Regions from separate parts of the Homo sapiens genome. Here region 1 is linked to region 2. The links are contacts of gene promoters, found by promoter capture Hi-C in blood cells and fetal thymus (Javierre and others, 2016). All regions are on one chromosome and are shown on one strand. The core of a region is centred on a gene start or on the middle of the fragment in contact, and the rest is flanking DNA. Distances in the headings are between cores, read along the strand shown. Region 1 has its middle 34 kb from the start of POLD3. Region 2 holds the start of PGM2L1 (phosphoglucomutase 2 like 1).

Region 1 (3,147 bases), core at 299-2,798, 160 kb before region 2:
TTTCCCACTCTGTGCATTCAGCCTCCCCCCACTTCCCAGACATGGAGGCTTAGCTTAGGATAAGACATCATGCATCCTTTCCCAGAGACTCAATCTTCATTTCATACCTCTTTTACGTCACCTAAGTCCTTCTGGATCCTCAGGACAGGAACTGAAGCCCTGGGGATCAATGACAAGGAAGGAGCTGCTGAAAGAGGTCCCTGTCCACTGGGCAGAAGGGATCCTCCAGTCCAGAGTGCGGCTGAGCACTTGGAAGCTGGGAAGTCAGCCAGCATTTCATCTTTTGTTTTTTCCTCCTGGGGCTTCCTGTCTCAGAGGTGAATGGAGAGGGGTCATGGGGACTTCCTGGCCTCTGCAAATAAACCTTTCCATTGTCGTTGGCCAGGCAGTACTTCCAGGCCAGACAGCCCAGGTTGATGGGCAGTAACCAAAACAGCAATGCTGCCTTCAAAGGAAGCTTACCCCTAGTCCCATCAAAGGTCCCTGTGGGCTGGGCATGGCGGCTCACACCTATAATCTCAGCACTTTGGGAGGCTGAAGCAGGAGGATCACTTGAGCCCAGGAGGTCCAGGTTGTAGTGAGCCCTGATCGCATTACTGCACCCAACAGAGCAGGACCCTGTCAGAAATAAATAAATAAATAAATAAATATCCCTGCAAGAAGAGGCTATACACTGCTGAGGTGGAAAAGCAGTCATGATCGCAGCCAGAACTTGACCACTCATTGTTGAGGGGTGAGTGGGAACTAGGTGGGGGAGAAGCATCAGAGAATGTGAGGGCTGGTAGGGCCTGAGAAGTCAGCTAGTTTGTTTTCTGATGATTCCTCATACCCAGACAGTTCCTGACACGTAATAGGGACTCTATAAACATTTACTGAATAAATGAGTGGATCTAGTCCTACATTTTCATTTAAGTGAGCTGTCAGGAAAGCAAGGCCCGAAATGGAAAAGGACATTTCCCAAGGACACACAGTGAGTTAGTATCAGAACCCAGACTAGAGCTCAGGGTTCCTGAATCCCTATTCTTTCTGTTAATAACTGGGTGACAATCGGTACACAGGGGAGGGGAGCCATATTCTCCTCCTTCCTTAAGCCAAAGGAAACTGGGGACTTCAAGAAAACCACTCAGAGAGCTTGACATGTTGCACTGAAGTTTGGGAATCATAAGATATGGAGTTTGACATATTCTTGAGGAATTTAAATATTAGAGACTGAATGGAATTTGTAGGACTAGAGAGAGATGGTTGGGCTGAGAGCAAACCCTTCTCCCACTGGCCATGGGGCAAAAGCAGGTTTTTCCTAGGAACTGAGGTAGACCTGGAAGAAGGGATCTGACCTAGGATCTTCCTAAAACAGGTCTGTCCTCAAAAGAATTGCACTGAGGGCACTGGGACCCCAACAGAGAAGATGGACTGCTAAAGTTCAGGAGCCAAGCCAGAGGAGAAGCTTTGCTTCTCAAGGGAAGTATAGTTGGGGGCTCCAAGGGAGGATCCCTTAAAGGTTCCCCTAAAGCCTTTCAAAGAGATAGAATTGGTTTTGGGCATTTGTCCTGCCCAAAACAGCAACATCGTATTGTAGTTGACACTCTTTTTCCTTCATCTTCTCTCCTTCTTGGAGGCAGAGACAGACTTACCTTGAAACTAATGAAGCTTAAATTTCAGGGTTCCTCACTTACAGACCTCTTTAGTCTCACAGATTTTGTATTTGTAATTTTGTATTTTTTCCTTAAAAATATATATTATAAAATTTATATTATTTTTGTATTGATAATAAACAATTTTATACTGATGCATAAACAATTATCACAAACTTAGCCACTTATTACAAATTTATTATTTCTGCTTCTGTATACCAGAAGTCGACGTAGGGCATGACTCAATTCTCTGCTCAGGATCTCAGCAGGCTGGACTGAAAGTGCTGGTCATGTATAGGGCTCAGGGTTCTCCTTCAGGCTCACTGGTTATTGGCAGAATGCAGTTCCTTATGGTTGTAGGACTGAGGTCACCATTGTCCTGCTGGTTATCAGCCGGGGACCACTCTCAGCTCCTATAGGCCACTCAAAATACTTTGTCGCATGGCCCTCTGTTATGGACTGAATGATTGTGTTCCCCTAAAATTCACATGTTGAAGCCCTAACCTCAATCTGACAGTTTGGAGATGGGGCCTTTGGAAGGTAATTAAGGTTAAACGATGTCACAAGGGCGAGATCCTGACCCAATAGGTTTAGTGTTCTTATAAGAAGAGACACCAGAGCTCACTCTCTCTCTCTGCATACACACACTGAGGAAAGACCAAGTGAGGACACAGCAAGAAGGTGACCAACTACAAGCCAAGAAGTGAGCCTTCCCCAGAAACTGACCATGCTGGCACCCTGATCTTGGACTTCCTGCCTCCAGATCTGTGAGAAAATAAATTGCTGTTGTCTTAAGCCACTCAGTCCATGGTATTTAGTTATGGCGCCCTAGCAGACTTACATGCCCCCATATGCAGTTCACAGCACAGATGTTGCTTTCTTCCAGACCAGCCACAGTGCATCTCTCTGGCTTCCTCTTTTGCAGCCAGATGGAGAAAATTATCTTCTTTTTTGTTTGTTTGTTTTGTTTTTTTGAGACAGAGTCTTGCTCTGTTGCCCAGGCTGGAGTGCAGTGGCGCGATCTCGGCTCACTGCAAGCTCCGCCTCCCAGGTTCATGCCATTCTGCTGCCTCAGCCTCCCGAGTAGCTGGGACTACAGGCACCTGCCACCACGCCCGGCTAAATTTTTTTTTTTTTTTTGTATTTTTAGTAGAGACGGGGTTTCACGTGTTTGCCAGGATGGTCTCCATCTCCTGACCTCATGATCTGCCCACCTCAGCCTCCCAAACTGCTGGGATTACAGGCATGAGCCACCGCACCCAGCTGAAAATTATCTTCTTTTAAAGGGCTTCCCTGATTAGGTCAGGCCCACCCAAGATAATCTCTCTTGCCACTTAACAGAATGACAACAGTGATGTCACCAGATTCACAGGTTCCACCTACACTCAAAGGGGAGATTATACAAGTGCAAAGGTCATTGAGGGAGCGGGGAATAATCTTAGAATTCTGCCCAATATAAAGGAGGCTGCCCAAATTGTGGAAGCTTCAGCCCCCACAAAACCTGAATCCACCCTGT
Region 2 (3,024 bases), core at 371-2,870:
GTATCATGGATAATAATGGTGATGGTAGTGGAAGATGAATTTCTCTCCAGGACACGTGACTGTTGCCCAGGCCTTGTGTGATTAAAAGAACAAGAGTCCTGCTGACTCCACAAAAGAAACAATCGTTAGCAAAAACTGCAACTCCCAACTATGGCACGTTTTTCAGAAACTGGTACCACAATCCTTTTGTACCTTGGTAGTTTGAATTTTATTATGGTAAATGGCACTTTAAAGGAAATAAAGTAATACTTTGAACTTAATATGTCTTTTATCTGTGAACCTCAAAGCAGCCTAATGCCATTTATTAAGTTACTGTACAGCCATGATGTAAATATTATCATACCTTCCTTACAAAAAAGCTGACTAGGGAAAGAGTTGTAATGTACTTGCCCAAAATCATAGCCATTCTAAGAAGGCCAAACCAAGAAACGGAGGAGTAGCTAGGTGGCTGACAGGTCAGCACTTCTCAGCATTTCCCAGACCTCAACTTAGGTGAGCTTTCCATAGGAGAGACGGCTAAGAAGTAACGGAAGACTATTTCAATTTGGGTGAACCAATTTCCTTTTCCTCCGTATTCCCATTACCATTGCTCTTGGTATCTTGTGATGCTTATACATTCTTATATTTAGGTTAAATGCCGACCATCTTCCCTCAACAACTTCCTTATCTATTTTCCAGTAATCTTGTTCTCCCTACCTCCTAGTTTACTATAGCAGCAGAGATATTAGATTGGTACAAAAGTCATTGCCGTTTTTGCCATTACTTTTAATGCCATTATTTTTAATGGCAAAAACAGCAATTACTTTTGCACCGACCTAATAAAATAACTGCCAGCTGAGGGGATCTGAAATGAGATTGGAACCCTAGTTTGACCGCTCACGAACTCGGCCTCTTAGGAGAGGTGTCTCAGGGAGTCAGTTTCTTCTTTGTGTGTGAAACGGAAAAGGACTACGCCCCTGTACCTTACTGAGGGATTGAGGCGATAGAACGCGATTCGTAAACTGCACAGCACTAAACGGATACCACTTTGTCCCCTTACTATGTCATTCCTTGTTTAATTTAATGCCAGGGCCACACAGCGCAGCATAACTAATAGGGATAGGGCGTGTCTGTAGGGAACTACCTCGAGGTAGATCTTTTTCTTTTGAGGAAAGGGGGAACGCGGAGCTGCTGGGAGTCGTAGTCTCGGCGGCGGTCTCCGCTGAGCTCAGACAAAGGAAAGAACTACAACTCCCGTGAGGCAGTGCGCGGACAGCTCGCACTGCCCCTCCTCCCCCAACCGGCGCGTGCCCCCAAGAGAAACTGGGGGCCTGCGCGCGCGCTGGGGACCTGCAGGGCAAGCGCAAAGGCAGCTTGCTAGTGGTAGCCGTGAGAGCAGATCGAGGAAAGGAGACCCTTGGCAAATTAAAAAATAAAAAGAACCGTGCACTATTGCCTCACCACCCGGACGGGCTGTAAACCCCCACTACTTCGGAGGCGTGGGGAGCGCGCTCCCGGGCTCCAGTCTAGAACTTCGGGGACTTAAATCAGCAAGGGCGGGAAGGGGCGGGGCCTAAGGCGCGGGGCGGGGCCGTAGGCGGGGCGGGCGGCGGCGGCGGCGGCGGAGCCAGGACCCAGACATCTGGGACTGTTGTTCTCTCGCGGCGCGACCGCCTCAGTCACTTCGCCCAGAGACCCGGACCTGGTCCGCTGGGGAGCAGGCGGCCATAAACCCCCTCTCTCCCGGTTCCCTGACGCCGCGGCAGGAGCTGTTACGAACACCCTGCGGTTGGTCTCCGATGCCCTTCAGTGAGGTGGGGACGCCTGGACCCTGGTGAGCGAACCCCAAGCCACCCCCCACCCCAACTCAGTGTCTTCGCCGGCCCCCGGCCCGTACGCCTGTCTGGTCGCCATGGCTGAAAACACAGAGGGGGATCTGAACTCCAACCTGCTCCACGCCCCCTACCACACCGGGGACCCTCAGCTGGACACGGCCATCGGGCAGTGGCTCCGCTGGGATAAGGTGGGTACCTGGTCAGCCCGGCAAACGCCGTCGCCTCCCCCACACAGTCTGCTCTTTCCTGTGCCCACCCAGCGCCCCGCGGGCTGCAGAGGAGATGGCTCGGGACACCGAGCGGGGGGCAGCGGAGCAGGGCGTTGCCACCCACCTATGCGTGGGGTTGCTCCTTCGGACTGCCAGAGCCGGGCGGCAACATCTGCATCGCTTCCTTCTGCAGTGCTCTCAATTGTAACCTCCCTTCCTCTTCTTTACCCTCTTTCCTTTCAAGTGCTGTCTTCCCTCTTTCTTCAAAAAAAAAAAAAAAAAAATCATCATCATTGTAAGTTATACCCTAAACAACGATTTCCTTTCCCTTTTTCTCCCTTGACTTCCTTCTCCACATACCTGAAAGTGGTTTCTGGCACCCTTACTGGGCGTTTCTAACCGCTATCCGCTTTAGTTCTGGTCTGGTGTGTTTCCTCCTTCTGTCGCTAGGTAGTTGCTGGCCTTTTATCACTCCCTGGTATTGTCTAGTATCACCTTTTGCTGTTGGGAAAGGCAAGGCGCTTACCTCTTCTTTCTCCTGCTGGCAGCTATTTTCTGGAATTAATCTGTTCAAGGAATCGTGTTTTCCAGGTTTCATGTGGTACTCTTAATACAGGATTGTTTTTGCCTTAACCATTACTTCTCTACCAACACCTCCCCACCCACCCTCCGCCCCCACCTCCAAGTTGTGGTGGTAATTAAACCTCGTGCGGGCATTTGGGATGAATTTGTGACAATCAGAATTAAAATGCAGCTATCTTACTTGTAAAAGAGGTCCCTGGTAGCTCCAACAGAGGAAGATAATCCAAGCTTTTGCTTTGTCAAGTGCGTAAAATACCTTTGTTGAAGTAGAGAAGGCAGCACATTTAAAATGGAATTAATGACACTGAATTAAGGAATTTGTATGGTAGTATGTGACATTATGTTGTACAAATGAATTTCCTTAAGGCTTCACTTTCTGAAAGTTTTGTTTTTACTTTATTCATTCATTCATTCAGCAA

What was found. The method cuts DNA at HindIII sites, captures the fragments that hold promoters and counts their contacts. A CHiCAGO score of 5 or more calls a contact.
Region 1: a contact is called between a fragment that was not itself captured here and the fragment with the promoter of PGM2L1 in region 2, in 2 of 17 cell types (megakaryocytes and neutrophils). The highest score is 5.3, in megakaryocytes.

What each region holds. Positions count from the first base shown.
Region 1 is chr11:74,556,950-74,560,096 of GRCh38, reverse strand. No RefSeq gene overlaps it. Among named protein-coding and RNA genes, the nearest start is that of POLD3, 34 kb to the left of the region's middle. The HindIII fragment of the contact is 203 bases long and covers 1,447-1,649 here.
Region 2 is chr11:74,397,029-74,400,052 of GRCh38, reverse strand. It overlaps PGM2L1 (phosphoglucomutase 2 like 1), which reads left to right and starts at 1,620. Exons shown (of 14, transcript NM_173582.6): 1 at 1,620-2,002. The coding sequence starts at 1,892. It overlaps MIR548AL (microRNA 548al), which reads right to left and starts at 816; the gene lies at 720-816. RefSeq lists enhancers at 636-1,256, 1,156-1,525, 1,257-1,878, 2,970-3,024. The HindIII fragment of the contact is 3,289 bases long and covers 1-2,835 here.